Regions from separate parts of the Homo sapiens genome. Here regions 1 and 3 are each linked to region 2. Evidence: promoter capture Hi-C in 16 types of primary human blood cells and fetal thymus (Javierre and others, 2016). All regions are on one chromosome and are shown on one strand. The core of a region is centred on a gene start or on the middle of the fragment in contact, and the rest is flanking DNA. Distances in the headings are between cores, read along the strand shown. Region 1 holds the start of MRAS (muscle RAS oncogene homolog). Region 2 holds the start of MSL2 (MSL complex subunit 2). Region 3 overlaps ARMC8 (armadillo repeat containing 8).

Evidence for each region. The method cuts DNA at HindIII sites, captures the fragments that hold promoters and counts their contacts. A CHiCAGO score of 5 or more calls a contact.
Region 1: the fragment with the promoter of MRAS here is called in contact with the fragment with the promoter of MSL2 in region 2 in 2 of 17 cell types (M0 macrophages and M2 macrophages); the score reaches 6.0 in M0 macrophages.
Region 3: a contact is called between a fragment that was not itself captured here and the fragment with the promoter of MSL2 in region 2, in 7 of 17 cell types (M1 macrophages, M2 macrophages, naive CD8 T cells and 4 more). The highest score is 7.8, in M1 macrophages.

Annotation. Positions count from the first base shown.
Region 1 is chr3:138,347,131-138,349,830 of GRCh38, forward strand. MRAS (muscle RAS oncogene homolog) reads left to right here and starts at 1,449. Exons shown (of 6, transcript NM_001085049.3): 1 at 1,449-1,637. RefSeq lists an enhancer at 961-1,916. The HindIII fragment of the contact is 4,446 bases long and covers 1-2,700 here.
Region 2 is chr3:136,195,020-136,197,719 of GRCh38, forward strand. MSL2 (MSL complex subunit 2) reads right to left here and starts at 1,316. Exons shown (of 2, transcript NM_018133.4): 1 at 1-1,316. The coding sequence starts at 94. RefSeq lists enhancers at 104-173, 224-273, 273-1,019, 324-393, 1,020-1,766 and 2 more and a silencer at 734-1,123. The HindIII fragment of the contact is 2,546 bases long and covers 1-2,396 here.
Region 3 is chr3:138,221,767-138,224,466 of GRCh38, forward strand. ARMC8 (armadillo repeat containing 8) reads left to right here. Exons shown (of 22, transcript NM_001363941.2): 3 at 160-231; 4 at 1,623-1,765; 5 at 1,870-1,967. Among named protein-coding and RNA genes, the nearest start is that of ARMC8, 36 kb to the left of the region's middle. The HindIII fragment of the contact is 1,165 bases long and covers 736-1,900 here.

The DNA of each region.
Region 1 (2,700 bases), core at 199-2,698, 2.2 Mb after region 2:
TTCATACAAAGACTTGTACATGAATATTCATAGCAGCTTTATTCACAGTAGCCCCAAAGCAGAAAACTAAATATCCATCAAGTGATGCAGGGATAAACAAAACGTATAGACATACAGTGAAATATTACTCAGTCATGAAAAGGAATGAAGTACTGCTACATGTTACAACATGAATAGATCATTAAACATTGGTTACTGAAAGAAGCTAGTCATAGTCACAAAAGGCCACATGTTGTATGATTCCGTTTATAGAAAATGTCCTGAATAGGGAAATCCATAGAGATTGAAAGTAGATTAGTGGTTCCCAGAGGCGGAGGAAAGGGGTGAATGAGGAGTGACTGCTAACGGGTAGTTCTTTTTGTGAGGGGCAGGGGAGGGGAGTGGGAAGTGGTGAAAATGTTCTGGAATTAGCTCATGGTGATGGTTGCAAAACTTTGTGAATATGCTAAACACCACTGAATCGTACACTTTTTTTTTTTTGAGACAGCGTCTCACTCTGTTGCCCAGGCTAGAGTGCAGTAGCGCAATCTCGGCTCACTACAACCTCTGCCTCCCGGGTTCACGTGATTCTCCTGCCTCAGCCTCCCGAGTAGATGAGATCACAGGCACGTGCCGCCATGCCGGGTTGACTTTTGTATTTTTAGTAGAGACGGGGTTTCACCATGTTGCCTAGGCTGGTCTTGAACTCCTGACCTCAGGCGATTCACCCGCCTCGGCCTCCCAAAGTGTTAGGATTACAGGCGTGAGCCACCGCGCCCGGCTTGAATTGTACACTTCAAAAGGTGGAATTTTATGGTGTTGAATTATATCTTTATTTTTTTAACGGGGGGAAAATGACGCCGCTGGAGAGGAGTTAGCGGAACTGAAACAATGAAATGGTGCGCGAGTGTCGCCTGTCCCCGTCGCATCCATCCCAACGAAGTTTGGGCCCTGGAACGGTGCACCCAGAAGGCCTGCGGGGAGAGACGCTGGGGCATGATCTGGAAGAAAGACGTCTCAGGATTCGAAGGGAATGCAGCTAAGGTGGCGGCGGAGGTTCGCCTAGGACTGGGGAGGCGTCCCTAGGCTCAGAAGTTGGCCCGGCCGGAGCGGAGATTTAAAGGTTGGAGCGCAGAGGCTCTTAAAGAGGCCGAGTCGAATTCCCACTCGGCGTCCACCTTAAAGCCAGCTCCCCGGCACCACGGATCTGACCCGGGTAAGTGCTGGGCCGCGGGAGAGGCTGCGGCGCCGACCCCAGCCCCTGGCGCTCTAGCGCGCCCTGCCGGGCCCAGGGGACTCGGCGCGGGTGGGCTGGACTTCGTAGGCGCGCGTCCTGGGGGCCGGGGTGCACGCGGGGGCGACAGGGTCGAGGCACCCGGCCCGGGCTCCCCACTGGCGCGCCCGCAGCGGCGCTCTATTTTTAGCAGGCGCTGTGGCAATATAAGGAATGCGCGGCGCGCTAGGCGCTCGGGGCGCACGCTGGCGGCGCGGTCGCTTTAAGGAGGCGCCGGGGCGGGGACGGACCGGAGTGGCCGGCTGGCGGGGAGCCGTCAGTCCGGCGGCCGCGGGGCCCGGCGGGCGCGACGCTGCCTCCTCACCGGCGCAGGCTAGGAGGGGGCGGCCTGAGTGCCGTAGCCGAGCCGGGGCTGGAGCGCGCGGTGAGTGGTCGGGCGGCCTTGGAGGGGAGGGGGCCCGGCCGCGCCGCCTCTCGCCCCGGCCGTCGCTTTGTTCCGGGGCGGGAGGTGTGGCCGCCCTCCGGGCTCGGCCGCGCTCTCCGCTTGCGGGGTGCGCCCTGGGACCGGCTGTGCGTGGCGTTTTGCCCCCATCGCGGGCTCCCGCGTAACGGTGTGCGTTCGTGAAATCGGCCACGACCAAGACCCCAGTGGGGAGGGCCTGCGCGCCGCTCAGAGAGACCCTTTCATGGTAATTACAGTTCCTTGGCTGCCTGGGCGAGAACCCGGTGGATAGATGGGCGGCAGGACGGGGCGGCGGGGGATGGGTGGGTGGGTGGGGGACTCTTTACCCCCCCGCCTTAAGATGGCGTTAACGAGGGGAGGGATCCGCCAGGGAGTTGACAAATTCATCTGAATAATAAAACGCAGCCTGCTTCATAAACAACCCTTCACTGCCCCCGGAGGTTTGGGGAGCTGGAGCTGTGGTCACAACTAGGGCCTGGGCTCATGCATTGAACTGATCTGGCTGAGGCATCAGACACGGTGCCAGTCCTGCCCTGCGGGGAAGACAAGAGCACAAAGTGACAAGCCAGTGTGGTAAGTGCTGAGATTCGGTAAGCCCAGGGGTTGTGGGAGCCCCTAGGGGTCCCTACTGCAGAGTGGGAGGTGAGAGAAGGCCGCCTAGAGGAGTTAATGTCTGGCTGGCCGCAGCGTATACACTGGACACCCAGTTAGACTCTGGCTAGAGCTGAGGTCTGTTCTGGCCTGGGGCAAAGTGGAGTCTGGAGAGGTGGACAGAGTCCATCAAGGCCACTGGGGCCTTGATCATAGAGCTCTGCCATTGCCCCTACTCCCCAATGGCCCCTGATGGTGTGGAACCTCCCTGGCCTTGCTCCTCTAGGACTCACTCTGTCCTGGACCTGACCAGAGAGGGTGGCTGACAAGGCTCGGAATCGTGGCCTCCAGAGGTTTGTCTGGCAGCAGAAGTAAGATGGAGATATGACTTTAAGAGCTCTGAAACTCCACTGTAATAACAGCAACCAACAGG
Region 2 (2,700 bases), core at 66-2,565:
TAATCTCAGTAAACGCCTTGGGGTCTCCGGGGTCGTAGTTGAGCACTAGGCGGCTCGCGGAAATGTAGAGAGCAGTAGCATTCACGGGGTTCATTGCAGACACTTCGACACCAATGGCTCCCGGTTGAAAAGAAATTCCGGATCCAACTTAGTAAGCAGCCAGGGAACGATGGCGAATTTGCAACAATTCGGAAGAAATCAGAGCCGAACCATTGGCCAAACAAGTAACCAAAATCCGTGCAAGTTTGTGGAGCTGAAACAATCCTCCCACACATGGGGCCTTGGCGCCCCTCCGTCCCTGAGACTTCCAGACCAAAAATATGAGAGAGAAACCAGCGTTCGAGTTCGTCCGGAGCGACCACAGAGCGCAGAACGCGGCGGCTTGGGCGCTCGGGGCGGGACTCGGAGCTCAGTCTAGCCCCGCGGCTCGGCAGGCGGCCTGCACTCGAGCTCCATCTCCGGACACGGAGGCGCCTCCTCAAGTCGAGCTGGCAGGCGCGGGAGCAGGCCCCGGCCCCGTCTGAGGCGCGGCACGCTTCTCCCGGGCTGCAGGGCCTCTTACTCCATCCCAGTACAGGGCGCGGAGGCGGCGGCGACGGCAAGGACGACGGTCGGGCAGCGGCTTCCCGGATCTAGTGCAAGACGCCGCGGCGGCGACGAAGGTTGATGTTGCGGCTGGCGGACGCCGCCGCCGCGCTCTCCATATCGGACGCGGGGCCCAGACTGCGCCCTGGCTCTCCGCCCCGTGGGTTGCAGCCCGCAGTTCCCCGAGGTGGCGAGGCGGGCGGGAGTCCTCAACCCGGAGGGGAAGGCCGGGGAGGAAGTGCGCGGGCCGCCGCCGGCGGGCGGGAGGGGGCGGGGGGCAAGCCCGGCCGGGCCGCGGCGGCGCCCCTCGCGCCTCAGTCGCACACTCCGGGGTCACCAGACTCAAGCGCCGCCCCCTCACTGCCCGGCCATTTTTTCGGCGCCACACACACAGACGACTCCTCCGCCGAGCACGACGGCCGCCGCCGCCCTCAGCACTCCCCGGCCGCGGAAGGCAAGCGCTCACACCGCCAGGCCCCGCCGCCGCCCAGCGCACACAGCAAGGCCCCGCCGCAGGCCCCTCCCCCGTGCCTCGCCGCCCTCACCCCGACTCCACGCGCCACTCCAGCTCGGTAGGGCCCGGGCTGCTGCGGCCTTAATGGATCCCGCGGGCTGTGTGGCGCCTCAGGCCTCTGCTGGCGGCGACGACGACCGTTACCCCAACGGGCAAAGCCACTGTCATCCCCGAGACTCCCCCGCCGCCGTCGTCGCTAGCGCTCGCACGCATGCGCAGAGCACACTCTCACCCCTCCCCCCTTTCCTCTCCCTTCGCTTCCCTTTTCCCTTGCTTCTCCTCTAACAACCCCCTCCACAGCCTCCCAGAGCTACCGGCTCACTCCACGCATGCGCAAGCTGCTACCTAGCTCCGCCGCCTTTCGCCCTTCCGCGTGCGCTTTGACCGCCCACCCAGAAAACCGGATAAACACATCAGCCTGCTCGCGCCAGTCCCTCACCGCTGCCAACCCACCCTGGGCTCACTGCGCATGCCTGGCTCTCCACTTCGACTCTCAGAATGGAGCATGCTCTCTGCGAGCCGACAGCTCTCTTCGCCCCTCCCCCACGTGCTCTCAAATTCCCTCTCCCAGGCATGTGGGCTGTGGTGAAACATTCGTTAGCTGGCACATCCTTCCCCAGTGTGGGCTGCAGGCTTCCCGCATTACACTGCTTCTGTGCCCGCCAACGCCGGGGCCCGACTTGGTAGCGCCATGTGGCGCTCTGCACTGGCCTGAACGCGGCCTCTCGTCCTGACTGACCGCGGTGTGAGGAAATAGCCGCGCCAGGCCCCAAGCCCCGCCCTCGCGGCCTTTCTCCTGGAACCGCTCATCCCGACCGCGGAAAGGGCGCAGCCTCGGCTGGCTGGCAGGCTCTCGCCGAGCCGGGAAGGCTGCAGTAGTCAACGTGGCTGCGCGCCCAGCAGGCGTGCGGACGGCTTTTGCCGGGTCGGGGCCGCGTTCCGCACCTCTCTGCGGTGGTTCGCAGTCAGAGGGCTCTAAGGCCCTGGCAGGCTGTATGTAAGCGTGGAGGCTCGAACCCACTGCCCCCTCCTACCCGTCGGACCCGCGCTGTTCCCACGGCCTCTGGCCCTTGGACTCGTGCGGCCTCACCTTCATGGGTGCCGATCAGGACTTCACCGAGCTCTCACCGGAACAGAGTCCTGTTTTAAAAACAAAACGAACTCCTTTTTTTTTTTTTTGAAAGACCTAGCTTTTTTAAAAGACCTAGCTCTTCTGTGTGAACAGATGTCTTGAAGAATGCGTGATCTTGCTCTAGAACAAACCCAAATCCTTGCAAATGTTTTGTTTTTTAAAACAAGCTTTTGCCTTTTGTTTTTGCAGGAGATCAAGGGCACTGGGATATAAATAAACAAAAGCCTGACTTAGTAGATGACTTCCCTCCCATCTCAAAGTACAAAACCTTTTTTTGAGTAGCACAAATAGTAACAGGCCATAGGAAGCATTTCTTATCTCTGTACACACCAAAGCTCCTCAGCATAATTTTTCATGCACAGTAGGTACTCTATACGTTTGCAAAGTGAAAATTATGATGCGTGTAAATCTATTGTGGCACATGTTACATATGTACACAGGCACGTATATGGAACATGTAAATGTGGTA
Region 3 (2,700 bases), core at 68-2,567, 2.0 Mb after region 2:
TCTGCACCTATCTCTATCCCTTCATTAGTACTTTAGGTGAAAAAAGGTTAGTGCTTTTACTTTGTCAAATCTAAGATATTGCATAATGAAGTAGAATGATCTTTGATTTTTCTTCAGTGCTGTCTCAACATACTTTATTTTTTCTTCCCCTTAATTCAGAGACATGAAAAATGCTGTAATTGGAAACAACAAGCAGAAAGCCAATCTCATTGTTTTAGGAGCTGTTCCAAGGTATGTTTGCTGTCTCACCCCTTTCTTGCCATTCATACTAGTTTCTAATGTATTTCTTACTCTCAATTATAGAACCCATTTTTCCTGTATTGTCTGTCTAATTCTTAAAATAAATCCTATTTTTAAAAATAAATGTAAGTATTTAAACTATCTTTAAGGAAAAAAATTATAAAGTAACAGAGAATGTAGTAAGAAGTGAATGTGTTAATACATTTTGGAAACTCAGGAAGACCTTTGACCTGATGACAAAAGGGTTCGTAAAGTACATATGCAATGTACAACAGCCTGATACTTTCTTCTCCATTTCCTTAGAGCCTTGGCAGTTTTTTGTGTGAGTGGGTAATTTATTAGGAGCCTTAAGACCTTTTTGAATTTAAAGGAAAAAAACCCTGCTTGATTTTTAATCCAGTTTCATTTTTTAACTTCTGATTTTTACAACTTGCTGTTTTTTAAGTTAACGTAAGAAGTTTAGGAAGTTTAATTTCTTCTTTTGATGACCTAATAAGCTTCCTTTAGGCAGGCAATGACAGTTACATAACTTCCTCTTTACTTTTGCTCCTCAGAGCTAAGTTTTCTGTGCAATTGCTATTAGCTTTTCATTCAGAATTATTTATTATTTTGTTTTTTTCTCCTTATTTTCTGGTTTTGATACAGAATTAATGGTTTAAGTGTTTTAACTCACCAACCTCAAACATATACTTTAGTAACTATAAAGCTGTCAGCAGCCTTTCTTAGGGGATTTATGTTTGGTATATATAAATAGTGCTTTATGGAGCATGAGGGTCCTGTCTTAGAACATAAGGTAGATGGTTATAAGTGGAGGAAGGTTAGGGTTTGGGGAGTATTTGTTTGGCAAGCTGGGCTGGAGTGGAAATGAGAGGATCTCTTCCTTTTCCAAATGAGAGAGCTGGAGAAAGAAGAAACTACCTTTGCTTGAGGAGCTGCACAAGGGCTCTGAATATTCCCTATAGGCTCGATATCTACAAACTGCACCACTGCTCTGGATTCAGAGCAGTAGCATTTCTAGTTTGAGTTTAAGATCTGGCAGCACATGGCATTTGAGAGTCTTCATATTTTGGAGACCCAGCAGGAAGTGGTAGATGACATGGACTCTGATGACGCTGTTTCTACAGAGACTATCTGTGGACAACTTTCAGATTTACACTTTTTATAAACTCTAAGAATATGATAGTTCTTTTTTTCAAAACCTCTTCTAGATTTTTTTTCCAGATGTTTCTTTAATTAGCAGATGAGATAAACAAATGACCATTGGATTCATATAAACTCAGCCAACCATATTTTTAGTATGTGGACTGCACAGCCTTTTTTGGTCACATTGAGTCTTGTTTAAATTTTTTAGTCTCTTCGTTTATTAAGTTCCTTCTTTTTAGATTGTTGTACTTGCTTCAGCAAGAAACCTCAAGCACAGAGCTGAAAACTGAATGTGCAGTGGTGTTGGGAAGTCTTGCTATGGGTACTGAAAACAATGTCAAGTCTCTACTGGACTGCCATATTATCCCTGCCTTATTGCAAGGTATGTAGGGAAGCCATTTTTGCTCAATTAAGGTTAAGAATCAGTTTGCAGTGCTTTAAATACTGGTTGAAAGGATTAGTCCTAAATCTCATTTCTGTTAATAGGACTACTGTCCCCAGACCTGAAGTTTATTGAAGCTTGCCTCCGATGCCTGCGTACCATCTTCACCAGTCCTGTCACTCCAGAGGAGCTACTGTATACAGTGAGTTTTAGATGTATTTGAGACATTAGTTACATTTCACCAACAGCCTACTCCTAATTTGCTTAGCATCTTCAGACTCATCATAACTGTGTTATGTAAAAAAGTCTCAGTTGGTCATGGTGGCTCACACCAGTAATCCCAGTGCTTTGGGAGGCTGAGGTGGGAGGATTGCTTGAGGCCAGGAGTTCAAGATCAACCAGAGTGACATAACAAGACTCCATCTCTTTTTTTTTTTTTTTTTTTGAGGTGGAGTCTTGCTCTGTCACCCAGGCTAGAGTGCAGTGGCGCGATCTCGGCTCACTGCAACCTTCACCCTGCCAGGTTTAAGCATTTCTCTGCCTCAGCGTCTGGAGTAGCTTGGATTACAGGCGCGTGCCACCACACCCGGCTAATTTTTTGTATTTTTAGGAGAGATAGGGTTTCACCATCTTGGCCAGGCTGGTCTTGAACTCCTGACCTTGTGATCCACCCGCCTCGGCCTCCCAAAGTGCTGGGATTACAGGTGTGAGCCACTGCGCCCGACAACAAGACTCCATCTCTACAAGAAAAAAATAAAAATAAATTAGCCTGGTGCAATGGCTCATGCCTATAGTCCTAGCTCATGAGACTGCAGTGGAAGGATTGCTTGAGCCTAGGAGTTTGAGGTTATACTAAGCTATGATGGTGCCCCTGCACCTCAGCCTAGGTGACAGAATGAGATCCTCTCACTAAAAATAAAAAATGATAAAAGTCT